3 separate regions of the Homo sapiens genome follow, and all the other regions are linked to region 2. Evidence: promoter capture Hi-C in 16 types of primary human blood cells and fetal thymus (Javierre and others, 2016). All regions are on one chromosome and are shown on one strand. The core of a region is centred on a gene start or on the middle of the fragment in contact, and the rest is flanking DNA. Distances in the headings are between cores, read along the strand shown.

Region 1 (3,096 bases), core at 509-3,008, 620 kb before region 2:
TCCAGAATATCCGGGCTGGATGGTGTAACGTTCCAGCAGGCTGAGCCGTGGCTATGCTTGTGTTGATGAGCCCGAGTTGTTTTTCCCCAACCTGTTTTTATGCACCACCCCTGAGCCTTCCCATCTGATAGCTCTGGGTTAAGTCTCTTCACCTGTCTGCCCAGTTTCCGCAACTTTAAAATGAGGATGATGAAGGACTTACTTCACAGAGTTTTATGAGGACTGAATGAGTTAATCCCTGAAAAATACTTAGAACAGTATTTTGCAAGTAGTGAGGTAGAGGTCTTGAAGGTTTACTGTGAAATTATTTTCAGGTACTTTTTGTATTTGGCACTACCATAAATGGGGTTTTTTCTTAATTTTAATTTACAGTTGTTTGCGGCTGGTATTTAAGAATACAACTGATTTTTTTATATTAGCCTGATAACATGCCATCTTGCTCAGTTCCCTTCCCTGGGACTTTTTTTTTTGTTTTTTTTTTTTTTTTTTGAGATGGAGTCTTGCTCTGTCACCCAGGCTGGAGTGCGGTAACGTGATCTCGGCTCACGGCAGCGTCTGCCTCCCAGGTTCAAGCGATTCTCCTGCCTCAGCCTCCCGAGTAGCCGGGACTACAGGCACGTGCCACCACGCCTGGCTAATTTTTATATTTTTAGTAGAGATGGGGTTTCACCATGTTGGCCACGCTGGTCTTGAACTCCTGATCTCAAATGATCCGCCCACCTCGGCCTCCCAAAGTGCTGGGATTACAGGCATGAGCCACCGTGCCCAGCCTTCCCTGGGATTCTCTGTGGAACTCTGTCCTCTCTTCTGTAAACAGGGACAGTTTTACTTCTTCCTTTTTTCCCCCTTTATTTCAGTGTGTGAAAGGACATTGTTGCATAGCAGTGGTATGTGTGGAGGCCCTTTTTCTCCATCTTGGGAGGTAACCATTCAGTATTTCTTCATTAAATGTGATTAGCTGTCGGCCGGCCCTACGTAGTGCCCTTATCAGGGCGAAGATGTTCCCGTCTGTTCCCAGTTTGCTGAGATGTTTTGTTTTCCTCCTCATGAGTGGGTGTTGAGACGGTGGTACCACCTGTTGATATAGTGAAGTGCCTGGGCTGAGTTTTGACTGCTTGATGTGGCCTTGTGTTCTGAGATTACCCCTACTAGGTCTTGATGTGTGATCCTTTCTGAACTGCTGGATTCAATTGGGTAATATTTTGTTAAGAGTTATTTGCATCTATATTCATGAGGGGTATGGTCTATAATTTTATTTTTTCTTAGTGTCAGATTTTGGTACTAGCCTCATAGGATGAGTTGGATAGTGATCTCACTTCCTCTATTTTCTGAAAAAGCTTGTGTAAGATTGGCACTGTTTCTTCCTGGAATGTTACATGGAATTTACCAGGAAAACAAGCCGAGCTAGAGTTTTCCTTTGGGGAGTGTTCTTTTATAAGAAATTTAACTTATTGAGTAGATACAGGGCTATTCTAGATTGTTTATTCTTGTGTTTCTTTAATAAGTTGCCTTTTTCAAGAAATTTGTCCATTTCATGTAAGTTGAATTTGTTACTGAATTTGCTGGCATGAAGTCGTTCCCAGCATTCTCTTGCCCTCTGGCTGTCTGTAAGGTGTGTCCTGATAACCCGTTGAACATTCCTGACAGTGGAGGTTTGCGCTCTCTCGTTTTCCTGATCAGGCTAGAAGTGTGTTAGTTAGCTTGTCTTTTCAGTGAACCTGTTTTTTTCTGTTACATGTTATTGTTGTCTCTTTATTTCTGCTCTGTATTATTCTCCTCCTTCTACTCGACGCTTACTTTGCTCTTTCTGGTTTCTTGATTTGGAGCCTTAGGTTACTGATTTTAGATCTTTCTTCTTTACCAAGGTAGCCATTAGAGCTGTAAGTTTCCTTCTAAACACTACTCTAGCTGCATCTCTTAAATTCTGGTATTTCATGGTGGCGGGCGCCTGTAGTCCCAGCTACTCGGGAGGCTGAGGCAGGAGAATGGCGTGAACCCGGGAGGCAGAACTTTCAGTGGGCCGAGATCACACCACTGCACTCCAGCCTGGGCGACAGTGCGAGACTGTCTCAAAAAAAAAAAAAAAAAATTCTGGTATTTTGCATTTCCATTATAATTCAGTTCAAAACATTTTGTAATTTCTCTTTTGATTTCTTCTTTGGCCTATGGATTATTTAGAAGAAGCTTGTTTGATTTGCAGGTATTTGGGATTTTCCTAGATATTTTCTAGCTATTGACTTCCAATTTAATTCCGAGAATAGACCCTGTGGTTGGTATTCATATACTTCCCCCCAGCCCCACCACAGAAGCTCTGTCACACAGGCTGGAGTGCAGTGTGTGATCATGGTTCACTGCAGCCTCCAACTCCTGGGCTTAAGTGATCCTCCCACCTTAGCCTCCTAAGTAGCTGGTATTATAGGCATGCACCACCATGTCCAGCTAATCAGCTAATTTTTTTTTTTTTTTTTTTTTTTTGGTAGACACAAGGTCTCGCTATTTTGCCCAGGCTGTTCTCAAATTCCTGGCCTCAAGTTTTTCTCCTGCCTTGGCCTCTCAAACTGCTGGGATTACAGGTGTGAGCCACTGTACCGGGCCTTTCTGTATACTTCAAGTAATCTCTAGATTATTTATAGTACAATACAATGTAAATGCTATGTAAATAGCTGTTATACTTTATTTTTTAAATTAAAAAAATTGTTGTATTGTTACTGGTTTTTTTGTTTGTTTTCCAGATATTTTTGACGTGAGGTTTGTTGACCCCACAGATACGGAGGACTGACTATGATTTCTTCTCAATGTATTGAGACTTATGACACATCTTATGGTCTGTTTGATGACTTCCACCTGTACCTGAAAACAGTGTATATTGTACAGTTGTTGGATGTACTGTTATGTAAATGTCAACTAGATAAATGTTTTGATAGTATTGTTCAGATTTTATGTCTTTACTGTTTTTATTTTTCTATTTTTAGACAGGGTCTCAGGCCAGGTGTGGTGGCTCATGCTTGTAATCTCAGCACTTTGGGAGGCCAAGACAGAAGGATCGCTTGAGACCAGCCTGGGTAACTGGGAGACCCTGTCTCTGCAAAAAAAATT
Region 2 (3,015 bases), core at 317-2,816:
CTGCAACCAGATCCCACCTGTAAATCATCTAACAAGGAGGTCAGGCAGCTCACTCAGGCTCCCTGGGAAACCTGCCCTGGCCACTGCACTAAGTTGATTTACAGAAATGTCCAGCGCCCCAGAACTTCGGGGCATCACCACTGTCGTTTCAAGAAAGTGTGATGCATGTCCACAGGTTCCAGCCAGGTGAGACTGCACCTGCTAACAGTGGTCAACAGGTCAGCAAAGATTAGGGCCCAGCACCCAGAGGGTCCTTAACCTGTACTTGTGGCCAGGATTGGAAGACTTGCGTTCACGGCTGTCCCTGGCACACAGTACAAGGAATGTCACCAGTTCCCAGGCCCAGCAGGCCTGCAGGGCTAGGAGATGGCAGTGTCCCCTAGGGGCTGGGCTGGGGCCTTCTCCACCTTTCCACCACCATCATTACAGGGACAACTCTGCGAGGAGCTATCCTCATGGCCAAGTCCAAAATCCAGATTTAGTTTTACCTAAATGTTTTGAAATGAATTGGTATAGCAGTTACAGAAGAAATTTATCTGGAGTGGCCACTCCTGATTTTTATTTCAAGAGGTCACCAACCTTGCCATGTATCTGCCAGCAGATGTCAAAGGTGGATGAGCAAGGGACCCGCGGTGCTGGGAAATGGCAGGTGAAAGTGACTTTGTGTTGCCCCATATCTGCCAGTGCTTAGAGAGAGGGCCCTGAGGAGGCGCTGAACTGGCATCAGCTGTGTTGAACAGTCCCCAGGGTGACCCTCCCGGTGGCCCAGGCTTCGTGTGGTCCTCTCCCCTAAGTGCCTTCTTACAACTGAGAGATGGCGGCAAAGGTGAAGGAAGCCACGGCTTGCCCATGTCATCCTGGTTATATAAGACTCGGCACCCTAGAGAGAAAGACTCCCCTGGTGGCTTTGAAAAGAAAACGGCCGTGCTTTGCACTGCCTATGGAGGGACAGGGGTCCGCCAGCAGCTTCCAGGAGCTGAGTAAGGCCCCCAGCCCGCAGCAGAAGGACAGAGACCCCTACACACCCAGCTTAGGGAGAGAGGCCCCTGTGGACACGTGGCCCCTCCGGGGGTTATCCTCCAAGGGACATTCTTCTGATGGGGACATCCTCTGGGGGGATTTCTCTTGGGGGACAGAAATATTCCTGGAAGAGGGGATTCTCTGCGGGGCAGGCATCCTCCGGGGAGAGAATCCTGCTGGGAGGACATCGTCGGGAAGACATCCTTCCTAGGTACCCGGCTCATCTTCCGGGGAGACCGTCCTCTGGGGGGCGGGCAGGCTTTGGGGACATTTTCGGGAGGGAGGATCTCCTAGGGCGGGCATCCTTGCGAGACGGGGTGGGGCGAATCCTCCCGGGTGGGCATCGTGGGGTGGGGGTGGGCGTTCCGCGAGGGGCATCCTCCCGGGCGGACGTTGGGGGATTCTCGGGGGAGGGAGGGGCGCGGGGCGGGCGTCCCGGGGAGGGAGGGGCGTTGCGCGCGGACGCGGGCGGGGCCTGGGCCGCTCCGTCCCCTCCCCCCGCCCGCCCCCCGCGCTTCCTCTGCTTTCGGTTTCGCTTCCGCCTCCAGCGCGAGCCCCGCCGCCGCCGAGCATGGACGACCCCGACTGCGACTCCACCTGGGAGGAGGACGAGGAGGATGCGGAGGACGCGGAGGACGAGGACTGCGAGGACGGCGAGGCCGCCGGCGCGAGGGACGCGGACGCAGGGGACGAGGACGAGGAGTCGGAGGAGCCGCGGGCGGCGCGGCCCAGCTCGTTCCAGGTGCGGCCCCGCGGCGCGGAAGAGGCCTGGGGTCCCCGGCGCCCCCCGCCCGGCTGCGTGGACGGGAGACCCCCCCATCCCGGGCGGAGACACCTGGAGCCTCCTGGAGCTCCCGCAGCCCCGGGGACCCCCCCCCAGACCGGCCGACCCCCAGCCCCAGGGCCCGGCGGGGAAGTGCGGGGGCCGCGCGTGGGTGACAGCGGAGCTGAGCCTCCCGGGCCCCATCGTGTGTGGGCGCCGTTCCCCCCGGGGGTGCCTCGGGCGCGTCCCGCCCCCAGCCGCCGTGGCCGCCCCTGATGGAACCCCTCCCGCCTCGGGCCCGCGCCTCGGCCTCCTGGCGGCCCCTGCGCAGGCCCCGCGGCCTGGGGCTGGGGCTGGGGCTGGGGCTGGGGCTGGGGCCCGGGCCGGGTCTGGCCTGGGAGGCTTCGCGTCTGCACCTGCGGGAGCCCGGGGCGGGCCGACGGGGCCTCCGCTTGTTACTTTTGTTACCGCCGGGCGCCTGTCATCGCCGGGGTTACTTTTGTTGCCGCGCTGGGAACGCCACACTGTCGCAGTCCGGCCCCCCTGTCGGGGAGCTGGGATTGATCTGGGAGCGGCCTTCCAGCTGAGCTGCCCGGGTTGCGGAGGGCCGGGAAGTGCATGGAACTCGACGGCTCCGCATGGATTCTCCCCTTGGCACCCAGCACTGTTTGCGTTTGCGCCTGGCCATGGTGGAGCGGGCAGTGAGAGAGCACGGAGGGGCTCCGCCCTGTCGCCGGGAGGGCAGCGGCCAGGCAGGCTGGGCAGGGGGGTGGGGTCTGGCTCTGTCCCACAGGACGGTGTGACCCCTGGGTGGGCTCTTGACGGGCTTTCCTCACTGGAGTTCCTCAGGCCGCTCTCCTGAAGCGGTGCTCAGAGGCCCTGACCATCCTGCCAGGCGCCCGTGACCCCTGACCTCTTCCCTCTGCCTCCTGCTGTGGCTTCTGTCCACAAGCCCCTCCCCTTCCCCTTTGGACCCCTCAGGCCTCCCCAGCTGCCTGCGCTGGACCCTGGCGGGGCTGTTTCACTTTTTCCTGGGCAGTGTCATGTATGCACCTGTGGGCTGACTGTGTGGCCACATCCAGTCAGGACCCAGCCTCCAGAACTGACCCAGGGAGGCTCCCGCTGGCCCCAGGAAGGAGAAGTAGAAACTGATGATCAGGCGGGGCGAGAGAACCACACCAGCGGCCCTGTTGAGAAATCAGGCCGAGAGGTCGGTGGCGGTGGCTCAGGCC
Region 3 (3,375 bases), core at 233-2,732, 740 kb before region 2:
AGCTGGCGCTGCTGGGAGCCGCCCTTCCCTCCCGCCCCGTGCGGCCACTCACCTGGGGGCAGCTGGAAGTTCTGGATGTTGGTCGGGTTCTGAGGCGGCTGCGGCAAGCGGGGGGCCAGCACGGTGGGCGTCAGGGTGGCCCGAATCCCGCTGGTGGTGGCCGTGGGCGTCCGGGACAGGCTCTGGGTCACTGCGCCGGCCGCGCCTTTGGGCAGCCCGGTGGGGGTCCCGGGGGCGGGCGGCGGGACGGCGGCCGGGCTGGGCAGCGCCCCTTGCATAGTTGGCCCGATGACCATGCTGGCCGCCGTGCTGGCCGGGCCGCTGGCCGCCAGGGTCTGCGCCGCCGGGGGCGCCGCCTGCACCACCCTCTTGGGCGACTCGGCCTTGACCCCCGGCGCCGGCGCCGCAGCCGCCGCGCCGGGCCCGGGTTGGCCGCTGACCCCCGCGGGGCCCCCGGCGGCCGGGGCGGGGGCGGGGGCTGCCCCGGCGCTGCCCCCGTTCTGGGCGGCGGCGGGGGGCGGCACGGCGGGCGCGGCGGTCGGGGGTCCGGCGGGGTGGCCGGGCGGCCGGGCCAGAGTGGCGGGCGCGGGGGGTGGCGGGGGCGGGGCGGCGGCGGGGGCGGCGGGCGCGGGGGCGGCGGGGGGCGAGGGCGCGGCGGGCGCGGGGGGCGCGGCGGCGCCCACGAAGGGGGGCGTCTGGATGACAGTGCCGGGGGCGGCGGGCTTGGGCAGCGGCAGCAGCGCGGCGGGCCCGTTGTTGACCAGGCTGACAGCAGGTGCGGCGGCGTGGTGCGAGTTCAGCAGCGCGGCGCTCCCATTCAAAGTTTGCGCGGCGCCGGGGCCGGCGGGCTTGCCAGGGCCAGGGCCGGGGCCGGGGCCGGGGCCGGGCCCGGGGCCGGGGCCGGCGCGGGCGGCCAGCGCGGCGGGGCCGGCGGGCTTGGCGGGGCCGGCGGGGGCGGGCTCGGGCCCCGCGGCGACGGCGGCGGCGGCGGGCACCGGGGCGCAGGACCCCGCGCTGCCCTCGGGCGGCGGCCTCAGCTTCGCGGCGGGCGGCGCGGGCCCTGCGGGGACAAGGGGGCGGCGCGGTGAGGGGGGGCCCGGGCGCTGCGGCCCCCCGCCCCCCGGCCGCGCTCTACCTGCGGGGGGCGGCTCCGGCGCCGCTCCGGGCGCGCCCTCGGCGGGGGCGGCCGGCCCTGCGCCCGCGGCTCCGGCCGGGCTGCCGCTCACAACATGGTTCCCGAGCGCGCCGGCGGCCGCGGCCCGCACCTCGGGCGTGCGCGGCGCGAGGTGGTGGTGGTGGGCCGCGCTGGCCGCCAGCTGCGACTCCAGCGAGCCCACCAGGTCGCTCACCACTTTCTCGTCCACCTCGCTGTTGAAGAAGACCTCGTCCAGCAGATCCGAGCCCGCCGCCATCTTTTTTCCTCGGCCGCCGCCGCCGCCGCCGCTCGGGCCGAGCGCGCCTGGGCGAGGAGGAGGTTCCGACTGGGGCGGGCGCTGGGCGGGCGGGGGGCGGCGCGCGGCCGGCGGGGGGCGGGGGCGCGCGGCCGGGGGGCGGGGGAGCGGGGGTGGCGGCCCTGCGCAGGCGCGGAGACCGCGGGCGCCCGGCGATTGGCTGCGGCGCGCGCTTAAAAGGCGCGGCCAATGGCTGCGAGCGCTAGAGGCCGGGGCGCGGGCGGTCGGCCGGGGTGCGGCAGCAGCGGCGGGAAGCGCGGGGGCTGGAGCTCAGGGGCGCGGGCGCCGGGGCGGTGGCGGACGGGGAGGGGGCCGCCGGGCGGGGCGCGGGATGCGGGAACGGTGCGCTGGGCCGGGCCGAGGCGGGCGCGGGGCGGCGACGGGGCCTCGCTCTTTGTCTCGGCTCGCTCCAAAATGGCTGCGGCGGCGCTGACGGGAGCGCCGGGCGGGCGCCGTGCGCGGTGGCAGCGGCGGCGCAGGGCCCGTCCGAGGCCCGGGGAACAGCGCGCGGGGATGCCGGGGCGCCGCCGGGCGGCGCGCAGGCCCTGGAGTGGATGGGCCTGGGAGGCGGGCGGGAACGGGGAGGGGACTGTCGCAGCGCGCCCTGGGGACGGGGACCGGCGCCCGGCCCCTCCAAGCCGCCGCGGGGAAGCTGGGTCCGCCTCTGGCTCAGCCGGTCCCGGGCGGTGGGGAGGGGTCCTGCGCGCACGGCTCTTCTCGCCCTCCAATCGTGACCACCCCTGGCCCTTCCCTCCATTTTTAATCAATAAACCCAGCCGCCCCGGGCTGACTGTCCCCGCACCCAGCTGCCTTGGAGACAGGAGTGTCGTATAAGCCCGTAGGTAAGAGCACGGTGCTTGCCAGGCGCCAAACGAAGTTCCCGAGCCTGAAGCCGGCACGTCTGGAAGTAGCTTTTTTTACCTTCTGCTGGGGGAGGGGAGTAAGTTACCTAAAGTGTTCCCAAGCACCTTCTCTCTAGAAATACTTCAGTAAAAGTTCCAGTCCCCTCTTTCTGCGTGTTTTATTTTCCAACCAAAAGATGGTGTTATTGGACATTTCTAGTGGTTTTCCTTTCTCTCATTTCTTCCTAAGAGCCCAGAATAGGTTTCAGAGAGACGCTTCCTTGCCTCGGACCTCACTGGGGCCAAGAGGCCACAGGGTCAGTCTTCGCAGCTGAAGACAGCGCCGCAATAAGCAGAGACCTCGGGACGATGAATGACGTTGCTGACAAAGAAAATGATTTTTTTAATTGCTTTAACAAAGGAGACTGCTAGTCTCGAAAGCAGACCCGAACTGGACCCTTGTGCCTGTTCGAACTGTAGCCTTGCAAAGGAATGGACTTACTGATAACTGGAATACGGGACTTCACCCCAGGCTTGTTTCTCGACAGCAGCAGCAGCCAATGAGCATTGAGGACGGAGCCTAGGAGAGGTGCCTCCCCTATAGGGGAACAGTGTTTGGGGGAAATCACTGCAAACGTACAGCTGGAGTTTTGTACCTGAACTTTGGCTCCCAGAAGGCAGGAAAGGAAATGAATGAAGCAAGCTGAGTATGGCGGGGAGGGCCCCTGTGGGTACACCTACGGAGCACCTTGAGCTCAGTAGGGGGACAGTCTGAGTTTTCCAGAAAGAACAGAAATATAAAGTGATGATTAAATCTCGGGATTTTTAATTTTTGAGTGTTGACAACTAATTAGAACATTTTTAAAGCAGGTCAAAGCACAGGCAGGCTAACTGGCCCCACGCACAACTTGCAAGGTGGGGCGCACCAGGCTCACTGCACAGCCCATACCCACAGACCCCTCAGATTGGAGTCGGGGCAGAAGCAGAACGCAGGACTCGCAGGAAACAGACCAGGTTCCAAGGCCCCCAGGGTCCCAAAGGCTGGGGTAACTGAAGGTTCCCACGCTCAGGCCTCCACTCTT

What was found. The method cuts DNA at HindIII sites, captures the fragments that hold promoters and counts their contacts. A CHiCAGO score of 5 or more calls a contact.
Region 1: a contact is called between a fragment that was not itself captured here and the fragment with the promoter of OGFR in region 2, in 1 of 17 cell types (erythroblasts). The highest score is 6.7, in erythroblasts.
Region 3: a contact is called between the fragment with the promoter of TAF4 here and the fragment with the promoter of OGFR in region 2, in 1 of 17 cell types (neutrophils). The highest score is 5.5, in neutrophils.

Annotation. Positions count from the first base shown.
Region 1 is chr20:62,186,058-62,189,153 of GRCh38, forward strand. The region is part of intron 1 of MTG2 (mitochondrial ribosome associated GTPase 2); the gene reads left to right. Among named protein-coding and RNA genes, the nearest start is that of MTG2, 4.6 kb to the left of the region's middle. The HindIII fragment of the contact is 847 bases long and covers 1,336-2,182 here.
Region 2 is chr20:62,803,269-62,806,283 of GRCh38, forward strand. It overlaps OGFR (opioid growth factor receptor), which reads left to right and starts at 1,567. Exons shown (of 7, transcript NM_007346.4): 1 at 1,567-1,762. The coding sequence starts at 1,592. OGFR-AS1 (OGFR antisense RNA 1) reads right to left here and starts at 2,319. Exons shown (of 3, transcript NR_102430.1): 1 at 2,200-2,319. RefSeq lists an enhancer at 1,340-2,245 and silencers at 1,761-1,830, 1,911-2,060, 2,121-2,290, 2,441-2,500. The HindIII fragment of the contact is 9,717 bases long and covers 1-3,015 here.
Region 3 is chr20:62,064,399-62,067,773 of GRCh38, forward strand. It overlaps TAF4 (TATA-box binding protein associated factor 4), which reads right to left and starts at 1,483. Exons shown (of 15, transcript NM_003185.4): 1 at 53-1,483. The coding sequence starts at 1,412. MIR3195 (microRNA 3195) reads left to right here and starts at 404; the gene lies at 404-487. LOC105372705 (a long non-coding RNA gene) reads left to right here and starts at 2,056. Exons shown (of 2, transcript XR_936960.3): 1 at 2,056-2,293; 2 at 2,544-3,375. RefSeq lists enhancers at 1-201, 202-715, 716-1,230, 2,259-2,772 and silencers at 1,164-1,253, 1,514-1,623, 1,884-2,263. The HindIII fragment of the contact is 9,555 bases long and covers 1-3,375 here.